3 separate regions of the Homo sapiens genome follow, and all the other regions are linked to region 2. Evidence: promoter capture Hi-C in 16 types of primary human blood cells and fetal thymus (Javierre and others, 2016). All regions are on one chromosome and are shown on one strand. The core of a region is centred on a gene start or on the middle of the fragment in contact, and the rest is flanking DNA. Distances in the headings are between cores, read along the strand shown.

Region 1 (3,965 bases), core at 1,310-3,809, 260 kb after region 2:
GTGTTGTAGTTAGCCCCCAGCTAGGTGATCTGCCTTTGGAGACAGGAAATGATTTTAGCCAGCCCTGGAGAGGAGTCAATAAAGCCAAACCGAATTTGAGGCTGAAATCCCATCTAAAGTAGAATGTATAAGAAATTGTGTTGGCCAGGTGCGGCGGCTCACACCTGTAATCTCAGCACTTTGGGAGGCTGAGGCAGGTGGATCACGAGGTCAGGAGTTCGAGACCAGCCTGAACAATACGGTGAAACCCCGTCTCTACTAAAAATATGAAAATTAGCCAGGCGTAGCTACTCAGGAGGCCGAGGCAGAAGAATCGCTTGAACCCATGAGGCGGAGGTTTCAGTGAGCCGATATCGCACCACTGCACTCCAGCCTGGGCGACAGAGCAAGATTCCGTCCCCAAAAAAAATATGAAAATACAAAAATTAGCCAGGCGCAGTTGCAGTGACCGTAATCCCAACTACTCAGGAGGCTGAGGCAGGAGAATCGCTTGAACCTAGGAGGTGGAGGTTGCAGTGAGCCAAGATCGCACCATTGCACTCTAGCCTGGGCAACAAGAGCAAAACTCTGTCTCAAAAAAAAAAAGAAAAAAGAAAGAAAGAAAGCAATTGTGTTTCCTTCATGAAGACTGAGGACACAGCAGTGCTTTCGGTCTGAAGCAGGGTGGAGAAGACCCTCAGAGTCACAAAGCCAAGAACTCTGAGATGAAATGATGGTCCAAAATGAAAAAGCTTATTCAAATTTAATTGAATGGAGCTGGGGGTATGTATATATTCACTTGAACAAAGGAAAGCCAGTGGGGGGAAAAAATGTGTGAGCGTTGAGGTGGTGGGTAGAAGATTCCTACAGGAACAAACAAGGGAATTGACAGAAAGAATCCAAGCTAGGGTGCATAAAGGCAAACACTGTAGCCAGGAATGAACCACAGGCAAACAAGGCAGGAGCAAGAGGAGACGGTCCTGCTCCCATTCAGCCTCAGCCTCCTCCCAGTGCACCCTTTACTCCACCCCAAAATTTTCTAAAATGCACATCTGAACAAGTCACTCCCCTTCTGGGAATCTCCCCGTGCCTTTCCAGACAAAGATTCAAGCCCCATAATACAGTATCAAAGGACCTCTCCACCTGACCCCCATCACATCCTCAGCATCCTTCCAACTGTCCTAACTCAGTTACCCTCTCCCAGTCACATGCCTCTCCTGCTCCACCCTTTGCTCACACTGATCCCTCGATCTGGAATGTCATTCCCAACTTCTGTAGCCTAACCCTACTTTCTATCCCAAGTCCCCAAAAGTCATCCTGGAACACAGCATGATTAGAGTCTAACTTCGAGCTTGGCAACTGACCGGCCTAGGGTCAAATCCTGACTCTACTTGTCAGCGCTAAGACCCTAGGCAAGAAGCTGCCCTCCTGCCACACCTCAGCATCCTCAGCTGTAGGATGAAAAGCGTTAATACCCAGCCCACAGGGCTGCAGAGACTGATCAACGTGAAAGAACACAGGAGTGCTGGGCAGAGCTCCCTGGCACTCAACTGACACTGGCTTCTCTGCCCTCTTCTATACTAACGAGAACTTAGAAACCCTGAGTTTCAGATGAGAGCTGGGAATAGTGTTCTACAGTGGTTTAATGGAACAGAATTCAAGACTCAGGAATTAACTTACAGAAGTTACCCAAGACTTCATCAATAAATGAAGGACCAGAAGCCACCTTGCCTGCCAGTTGCTAGGACTAGCAATAATAACCTAAAGTGCCCAATGCATAATCAATACCTATGGGCACCATCACTGTTTCCTTGGCCCTATCACATGGGGCTCTCTTGTCTTTCTAGGGTCCCTTCTATTGCTTGGAGAGGGTCCAACAGAGAAGCGCACCTTATCAAACTGCACTTCCATTCAACTTAGAAGATAGAGGGATTCATCTCTGTAAGAGTTACACACATAGATGGATGACCTCCACCAGGTGCTCAATGAGATGATGCCTTTGGGAAGGAAGCCCGAGCCATCAGCTGCTTTGAGCAAAACTCATGAGTGGGCAAAACTCATGAGTGGGCCAGGCACGGTGGCTCATGCCTGTAATCCCAGCACTTTGGGAGGCCAAGGTGGGCGGATCACGAGGTCAGGAGTTTGAGACCAGGCTGGCCAACATGGTGAAACACCATCTCTACTAAAAATACAAAAATTAGCCGGGTACAGTGGTATGCACCCATAATCCCAGCTACTTGGGAGGCTGAGGCAGGAGAATCCCTTGAACCCGGGAGGCAGAAGTTGCAATGAGCCGAGGTCACACCACTGCACTCCAGCCTAGGTGACAGAGCAAGATTCCATCTCAAAAAAAAAAAAAAAAAAAAAAAACAACAACTCATGAGTGAAGATTTTCCTGATCACTGACCAGAGAAAACCACTCTCCTTTAAGGATGGAATTTCCATAGAGGGCCTTAGAGACACCTAGATCTGAGGTCACAGACTTGGCTGAGGTCACCTGAGGTCAAAGTCGAAAATTGGGACAAAGGACAATGAGAAGCTCCCAAGATTTATATTTCCATTGAGGATGACCTTCCCCAAAAATCTCCACCCTTGCTTTTCTGCTGCATTTGGGTATGCTGGGTTGGCATCACAACTTAACATGGCCTAAACCAGCTCCTCCAGCATCTCAGTTAATGGCCTCTTTCTTTCTAGGTGCTAAGACCAGAACCTCGGAGTCCTCCTCAGTTTTCTTTCTGGTTCATCAGCAAATCTCAACCTCACCTTGAAATCCCACTAGTCTCCCCTCAGCCCTGCATTCTGGCTGGTCTCCTTGCTGTCCTGCCTTCAATCTGTCTCACACAGCAACGCCTAGAGTGTGCTTGCTAAAAGCTAGATCAGTCCACCTCCCTTCTTTACTCCAAAACCCTCCAATGGCTTCTACCACCCTCAAGGTAAAATCTACCAGCCTTACAGTGGTCCGCATGGCCTTACATGATCTGACCCCCATGGTTTCTCTGACCTCAAGACCAAATTCTCCCCTCCTCCTGCCTCAGGGCCTTTGTATCTGCTGTTTCCTCCCCTCAGAATGATCCTTCTCCCAGATCTCCACATGCCTCACTCCCTACACATCTTTAGTTAAAAATGACTCAAGCCCTCTGCTATGAACTCAACTGTATCCCCCACCACCACCGAAAGAATTCATTATATTGAAGCCCTACCCCCACAATGTGGCTGTATTTAGAGATAGAGCCTTTAGGAGGTAACCAAGTTTAAATGAGTTCTTAAGGATGGGGCCCTGATCCAATAGGAAAACTTTATTTTTTTAAACAAAGTAGCTTTGTCACCCAGGCTGGTGTGCAGTGGCACAATCATGGCTCACTGCAGCCTCAACCTCTTGGGCTCAAGCAATCCTCCCACCTCAGCCTCCTGAGTAGCTGGGACTACAGGCACTACTACCACGTCCAGCGAATTTTTTATTTTATTTTATTTTATTTTGTAGAGACAGAGTCTTATTATGTTGCCTAGACTGGTCTCAAGTGATCCTCCTGCCTCAGCCTCCTGAAGTGCTGGGATTACAGGTGTGACCAACAGTGCTTGAACAGAAAGATAAATGGCACCAAGAAAAGGCCATGTGAGGACTCATCAAGAGGATGGCCACCTACAAGCCAGGAAGAAAGCCCTCACCAGAAACTAAAGAGGCCAGAACCTTGACCTTGGACTTCCCAGACTCCAGAATTATACGAAACAAATTTCCGTTGTTTAAGCCACCCACACTGTGCTATTTTTGTTATGGCAGTGTTAGCAGACTCATATACCTTCCTCCCTGTCTACCCTTCCAAAAATATCAACTCCCATCCCCACACTTAATCCCCCGAGCCTTGTCAGATTCCTCTTCACAGAACCAGATCTCATTGTCCACATCCCTACAGTGTGGGCTCCATGTGGGCTGGGAATCTCCCTGCAGCATCCCAAGCACCAAGAATATTACCCAGCACAGATCAGGC
Region 2 (3,575 bases), core at 729-3,228:
CTACCATAACTTCATTTCGTCTGCTTTTTGCAAAGAACAGACAATTCCAAACAGCCAAGCCTAACAAGTAGCTCATCTTAGCTTGTGGATTCAGAGCACTGGTGGCCTCTCCACCTCCAATTGACACCAGAAAACATATAAATACCTCTAAACATGCCTTGGGTATTTGTTTTTCTAATTGCAAATATTATACCATAACTTAGTTTGAAGGCTTTGTAAAGAATATGCCAGAAACATCTAATATTAGCCCTAAAAACTAGGGCAATCTTTTTTTTAACAGAAGAGTGTTCATATAAACATCAAAAGATGTGATGAGAGTAGTTTCAACTTCTAATCATAGAAATTATAGGGCTATTTCATGAAAGAGGTGCTTTATCAGCTCATCTTGAGTGAATGTTAAAGATGAAGATATGGCTAGTATCTCCAGAGTCTACTGTCTCAGAGAGGTAGCCCAAAGTTGTAAGACTGAGTGCCTTGAGGTAGGGAACAGGAAGCAACAGGGTCTCCAGGTTCACTGAGGAGTACTGACCTGCAATGCGATTCCTACATCAGCAAAGGTCTTCCTTCCATCGTTAGAGGACTCCTGGATTTGCTATGCCTATCCTGATGGCTTCCTACATGAGACCATCCATTCACACTTGGCCCTTACCCAGGCCTGAAATTCTCCCCAGTTGCACTCCACCCACTTATGTCTATCACTTAGCTCAAAGCCAGTAAAGCTCATCTCTGAACTAGCAAAGATTCCCTTTATCCCATCAAAATGTCCTTAACATCTATCTTGAGGTCATGCAGCATGATCTTACTTTGCTGGCATTCTTTCCTTCTTCTGTGGATTCCCAAGCAGAGTACAGATGTACAGATTCCTTGGGGGATAAGAGCTGGAATTTCAGCTTCTTTTTTTTTTTTTTTTTTTTGAGACGGAGTCTCGTCTGTTGCCAGGCTGGAGTGCGGTGGTGCAATCTCTGCTCACTGCAACCTCCGACTCCCTGGTTCAAGCTATTCTCCTGCCTCAGCCTCCCAGGCAGCTGAATTACAGGCACACACCACCACGCCCAGCTAATTTTTGTATTTTTAGTAGAGACAGGGTTTCACCATGTTGGCCAGGACGGTCTCGATCTCCTGACCTCATGATTTACCTGCCTTGGCCTCCCAAAGTGCTGGGATTACAGGCATGAGCCACCGCACCCGGCCTCACCTTCTTTTATATCCCACACAGCACCCAGCACAGAGCACAAAGCTAAGCGCATCGATCCAGCGACTGACTGACTGAATAAATGAATACATGCTATCTTGCTTGTAGAAGCCCAGATTCCTCCTTCTTACGACTCCCACACCCACTTAGGAGATTCTATTATGTCTTAAAAGAAGTTACATCTCCATTAGTGTCAAAGCAACATTATATAAGTGGCTCAACATGATCAGGCATGAATTTCTTTGTTTTCCCACTCACCTGAAAGCCCAAAAACAATCCAGGTGGTGGTAAACACTTCTGATCCTTCAAAGAAAACGGAAGAAAGCGATCCCTACCGTCTATTTTGAATCTACCGTTTTTTGTTTTTGAGTGTCTTTTAAATCTATTCAAAATCCTTTAAGGGCATTTCACCATGCATGGGAGAAGGTCATGGATCCTCAACAAATTGCAAGAGGCCTTTCACAGGCTAGACTCTGCCTTGTTCTCCAAGCTCACCTTCCATAATCCTGATGTGCTCCATATTGCCAGACTCTTTCAAGTCCTTCCCCGCCCTGCGGAGAATCCCTACTCACACCTCAGGACCAGCTCAGACATGGTCTCCAGGAGACCTTTTCTAAGATCCTATGTGAGGTAACTAGCCCCCTTGGCACCTTGTGACATAATTATTCACTTCCATGTACATGTCCCGTAGTGAACTATGAGCACCTCCAGACCTTACCCTGCGTTTGGTCGCCTTGCTCTCCTCTCTGCAGCTGGCACCCAATCTTTCCAGGCTGTCTCTAGGGACTCGAGCCCTTGGGATGGGGTCCTCAATGCTTTTCCACCTGCCTGGCTTCTAAATTCCACTAAGATCCTGTCCCATTCTCTTGGAAACACTAGAACTTACTCTGACATGCCCTATGGAAGTTATTTCTCCACTGCTGTTCAAACCCACTCCCAGACCTGGCCTTCCCTGAGGAGAGCGTCTCAGCCAAATCCAACTGCCTCTAGCTCAAGTTTCCTTGCGGGGGGCCCGCTGGCCTCATCCTGTTAGGTCGTCTTAGAGCCACAGGAGAATCAATGTTCCAGTGTCAGCAGGAAGAATCAATGTTCCAGTGTCAGCCAGCAGGGGGCAGTGTGAAAATACACACACCAGGCCCTTTTTTCAAAGGGTCTCGGCTTCCCTGAGGGTGTCTATCTGTGCCTCTATGAAGCATGGCTTGGGTCATTCCTCCAGTCCCATGGCCAGGTGGATCCTTCGTTTACCTTTCATTTCTATTAAATGAGAACATTCTCAATTCACTAACTGGATTGTTGGAAAGGCAGCAAGCTCTGCTAGATAGTTCTAAATATTTGCATCAAATATGGACCAGAAATTGTGAATCTGTCTTTCAACGCCCTCGGATCTGAGTCAGCAAGGCTGCCACGTGCAAAAGTAGGAACGTTAAATACTTGAAGCTGGGAGAGAATAAGTGGGTTTCTAATCCTCTCTGGTGCATTCAGTTCTAGAAAGTGGTTCTTTGTATTCTACTGGAACATTTCTATGTATGGTTTTTTTGTTGTTTGTTTGTTTGTTTTTTGAGACAGAGTCTCCCTCTGTTGCTCAGGCTGGAGCACAGTGGCACAATTTCAGCTCACCACAACCTCTGTCTCCCGGGTTCAAGGAATTCTCCTGCCTGAGCCTCCCGAGTAGCTGAGATTACAGGCACGTGCCACCACGCCCAGCTAATTTTTGTATTTTTGGTAGAGGCAGGGTTTCACTATGTTGGCCAGGCTGGTGTATGTATGTTTTAAACATGCTTTAAAACAAAATTTCTTTTTAGAGATGGGATCTTGCTATGTTGCCCAGGCTGGAGTGCAGTGGCTATTCACAGGTGTGATCATGGCGCACTGAAGCCTAGAACTACTAGGCTCAAGCAATCCTCCCACCCTAGCCTCCCACGTAATTGAGACTACAGGTATACACCACCATGCCCGGCCTTAAACATGCTTTTAAATGTGTCATAAATCACATTTCTCTGATGAATAAAAAGAATTATCTAATGTTGAGAAAGAGTCAGTGTTTAATCATTTACCTCACAGTGCAGATTTCTTAATAAATTCTGTTATTGAATCTACAGAATTTAACATTATGTTATTTTTGGCCCTGAAGGCATAACTTCAAGCCATTCTGGATACTGAATGTGTTGCTGACATACACATTAGCAAATCACTCAGAAGCATATACACTTTATTGCATTATCAGTAACATGAAGAAATATTTCTATATCATGAGAAAGAGCACTTTCTTCTTGATATGTGTGTAATCCCTTGGTCTTGGGAAGCTAAGGCACAGCTTACAGAGGGATTTTGTATACCCCACTCATTACGTAGCTTAAATCAGGCTGGGTAAACATGTAAACCA
Region 3 (3,631 bases), core at 594-3,093, 430 kb after region 2:
CGCTGGGACACACAGGCAGTTGGGGAAGATTTGGAGAGAAAGGGAACTCTTAAAAGATCAAGGAAAATTTGCTGGAAGAGAAGTGGGTTTTAGTAGAGGGTGGTTTGCAGACTGTTTAAGTAGGAACACAGGAGCAAAAGTCCTAAAGGTAAGAAAGTACAACCTGTTCTAGAAACTGACTCTAGTTCAGAATGGCTGTAAGAGATAAGGCTGGATGAGTAGATAAGACCCTGATCTCAAGGGGCTTGTATGCCATTTTGAAGACCTGTCATCTAGGTACTGGGGAGCTGTGGAAGGGGTTCAGGATGGAGAGTGACACAATCAGAATTTCTGGGAAGGTCCTCGTGTTGCAGTGGCGAGAGCGTAGGTGGGAGTGGACTCTAGGCTGAAGGTGAGGTAGCCAGTTAGGCTGTTGCAGTTACTCAGGAGGGATGATGTTGGCTTGAATTAAGGGAATGACAGGTGGCATAAGGAGTGGATGCAACTGAAAGCTGTTTTGGAGGTAGCATGAACAAGCTTGGTGACAGATCTACAAGCTGAGAAAGGAGCCACTAAGGGTGATGGCCACCTTGTTCTCTTGAAAATTCGGGGAAAGGGTACCATTTGCTAAGATAAGTCACATAGTAGAAGGAAGAGGTTTGTGGGAAGAGATGATGAGCTTGGTTTTGGACACATGGTGAGTTTTAGGTGTCTGTGGAGACATCTAGTAGTTATTTGGATTTAGGGTCTGTAGCTCAAGAAGAGACAGCAGGGAGCATGAGAATGAATGGGGAAACTCAGGGAGAGTGGGAGGCAGCAGAAGAATAAGAGAGCTTAGGACCAACCCCAAGGAACCCTCAAATGCGGGGACAGGCTGATGAAGAGGCAGTTCCTAAGGAGAAGGTCAGCTAAAGATGCCTGGCCAGAGAGGCAGGCATCAACCCAGGGGGAGGTGCTGCTTGGAAGCCAGAGGAAGAGTGTTTTTCAATAGTAGCATTAAAAGCTGCTGAGGGATTGAACGAGGTGAGGACTGAGTCCCTGCTGGGTTTCGTGACAAAGTCCTTGTTGACCTGGGAGAGCTGCTTCAGTGGAACAGGTGGGGTTGAAGTTGGGTTGTTGTGGTTTGAGGAATGATGCACAGCCAGGGAGGGGACATGAAATGTCGACAGCTCTTCCCAGAGGTTTACCCATGAAGTGGGGAAGAAAGTGCATTGGTTGGATGAGCTGTCAGAAGTTGTTTGTTGAGCCTGCCTAGATGGTTGTAAGTAGGGCTGTGGTGAGGGAGAGAGATGAGAAGATGGAGAGGGCAATGGAGTGAGTCTCTAAGGAGGTGGGAGGAGAAGGCATGGCAAGCACATGGCTGACTCCGAGTGTGGCTGTCCTGGGGACAGTTGTCCTTTGCCATCAGTGTTGTGTCCTCTACCAAGTCCCCTGTGGTCCTTTGTAAATAGCTTTATCTGGAGACAGAATGGCTCACAGCCAGTTAGGTTTTAAGAAGCTGAATCTGCCACATTCATGTATTTTCTTGTCCTTTCTCTGAGTGCAGTTAACCTGTTAGAGATGCCGGAAGTGAAGCTGTCCATCTGGGTAGCTGAATACATTTTCTTTGAATCCCATTATTGCTGTGAGGCTTTTGAAGGACAGGGTATGGCCATACTGGGGATGACTGTGAACTCATTCAGAGTGGGGTCCTCCTTCTGTTTGGTGTTTTGTTCTGACAATTGAACTTGTCAAATGGAGTTAGTATTAGGGCTAAAAGTATTTCTTTGTTATTCCCAACAATATACACACACAAATGGATGCTGTCACACACTGGCCAGATATATGTATATATATGTATATATGTATATTTTTTTTCAGTAGGAACTCAGATGAAAGCCTACTTGGCTTTTTCATTGAGAGGGCCACCTAAGTCCCTGACACTTATTAAGGATGCTTATTAAGGATAAACCCATCTCTGGTAATTTCTCTCCTAGGATCCTGTGTGAGTGGGGAGTTGCCCTCCCTGGCAGCTGGTCACAGGGCTTGATCTAGAAGATGGAGGCCATGGTATTCAGCAGAAAAGTTAGGCTTAGACTAATGACTTTCCTCCAGGAGAAAGTTGATAATTTGCATATAAAGCAGTGCAAAAAATTGTGTAGGTTATGAAGTTAGTCAGTGAAACTTGTGAATTTGAATGCAGTGTCAGTGGGAAAGGCAGAGTTGTTGGAGGCATAACCCACCAGTGCCTTGAAGTCTGCCTTTTAATGAAATTTCCTTGAAGAAGAAAGAAAAAGAGAAGAAAAGCTGAATGATGGTACTGCTTATTTTCTTTCCCTAGTTTTTAGTTCCTCTTAGGCAAATATGAACAGAATATTAATATGTTTTCTTTAGTGTAGTCCAGAGCTGAGTCATTATCTGGTAAAGAAATAGAGTATGGAGCTGGGTACGGTAGCTCACGCCTGTATTCCCAGCACTTTGGGAGGCCGAGGCAGGTGGATCACCTGAGGTCAGGAGTTCAAGACCAGCCTGGCCAATGTGGCAAAACCCCATCTCTACTAAAAATATAAAAATTATCTGGGCGTGTTGGCGGGCACTTGTAATCCTAGCTACTTGGGAGGCTGAGGCAGGAGAATCGCTTGAACCCGGGAGGTGGAGGCTGCAGTGAGCCAAGATTGTGCCACTGCACTCCAGCCTGGATGACAGAGCAAGACTCTGTCCCCCCAAAAAAAAAAAAAAAAGAAAAGAAAAAAAAAAAAGAAATGGGGTATAGGGTAGGATAGGTTCCACCGGTGTGGAGCCTGACACAGTGCCCAAGGGATTCTCTCTAGCCATGGGCACAGCCACACTTTTTTGGGTCAAACACTGACCATCACTACTTTGGGTGTCAGAGTCTTGAGAAATATCCAGGTAGGAGGGTGGGCCCCTGGCACCAAGTGAAGACCGAAAGGGAGCCTCAGAAGGATGCTGTCCAGGAAGCCTCCCACCAGGCTGGCAGGAAACCCAAACAGCAGGGTTTTCTTCCCAGAGAGTTGATAGTGAAAATGAGTTCCACAAATGCTGTTCTGGACTGAGCTAGGTCCCTCCCCAGGAAAAGCCAGACCTTAACCACAAGGAACATCCCCTCCTGCCCACTGCTCCCTCTGGCCCTCCCTCACTGCCTTCTCTTGCTTCTGTTATGTTCTGATCTTTGGGTCAGTGCTGGGTGTGGGGAAGCTTCTGGGCAGTTGGTGGAGAAGCTTTCTGAGCATGAGTTTCTCCAAAAATGCTAATGGCTCTTAACTGAGCCCCTGGTACACAGGACACTCCATGTGTCCTTCATCCTAAGTGCTTCTGCCTTTCTCTAGAGGGTCTGTGTAAACCAAAAGGGGTGGACCCTCAGAGGAGCTTCCCCCTTCCTTTAAAGCAGCACTCTTGTTTCCTGTTTATACCAGCACTACAACCCCCTTGGGAAATGGCTGAGGAACTGTGGGAGGCGGTGGTTGAGAGAGAACCTGAGAGGGTCTGCCCCACCTGGCCTCTGTTCCCGGCCCTCGGGATTGAAAGGGAAGGAAGGAGGAGGGGTGCCTGGGAGCTGGGTGGATATGAGTCAGAAGAGGCAGGGCAGCCTCTCCCTGCTGTGCTGGTCTCAGTACCCACCAGGAGTGAGGCAGGAGTGGATGCTGGTCTGGTC

What was found. Contacts are between HindIII fragments. The CHiCAGO score rates a contact against its expected background, and 5 or more counts as called.
Region 1: a fragment that was not itself captured here is called in contact with the fragment with the promoter of PRNT in region 2 in 2 of 17 cell types (naive CD4 T cells and total CD4 T cells); the score reaches 5.5 in naive CD4 T cells.
Region 3: a contact is called between a fragment that was not itself captured here and the fragment with the promoter of PRNT in region 2, in 1 of 17 cell types (naive CD4 T cells). The highest score is 5.3, in naive CD4 T cells.

Annotation. Positions count from the first base shown.
Region 1 is chr20:4,994,361-4,998,325 of GRCh38, forward strand. The region is part of intron 1 of SLC23A2 (solute carrier family 23 member 2); the gene reads right to left. Among named protein-coding and RNA genes, the nearest start is that of SLC23A2, 5.2 kb to the right of the region's middle. The HindIII fragment of the contact is 3,661 bases long and covers 730-3,965 here.
Region 2 is chr20:4,738,690-4,742,264 of GRCh38, forward strand. It overlaps PRNT (prion locus lncRNA, testis expressed), which reads right to left and starts at 1,979. Exons shown (of 2, transcript NR_024269.1): 1 at 1,911-1,979. The HindIII fragment of the contact is 12,166 bases long and covers 1-3,575 here.
Region 3 is chr20:5,165,735-5,169,365 of GRCh38, forward strand. All of the region lies in intron 1 of CDS2 (CDP-diacylglycerol synthase 2), which reads left to right. Among named protein-coding and RNA genes, the nearest start is that of CDS2, 41 kb to the left of the region's middle. The HindIII fragment of the contact is 2,658 bases long and covers 515-3,172 here.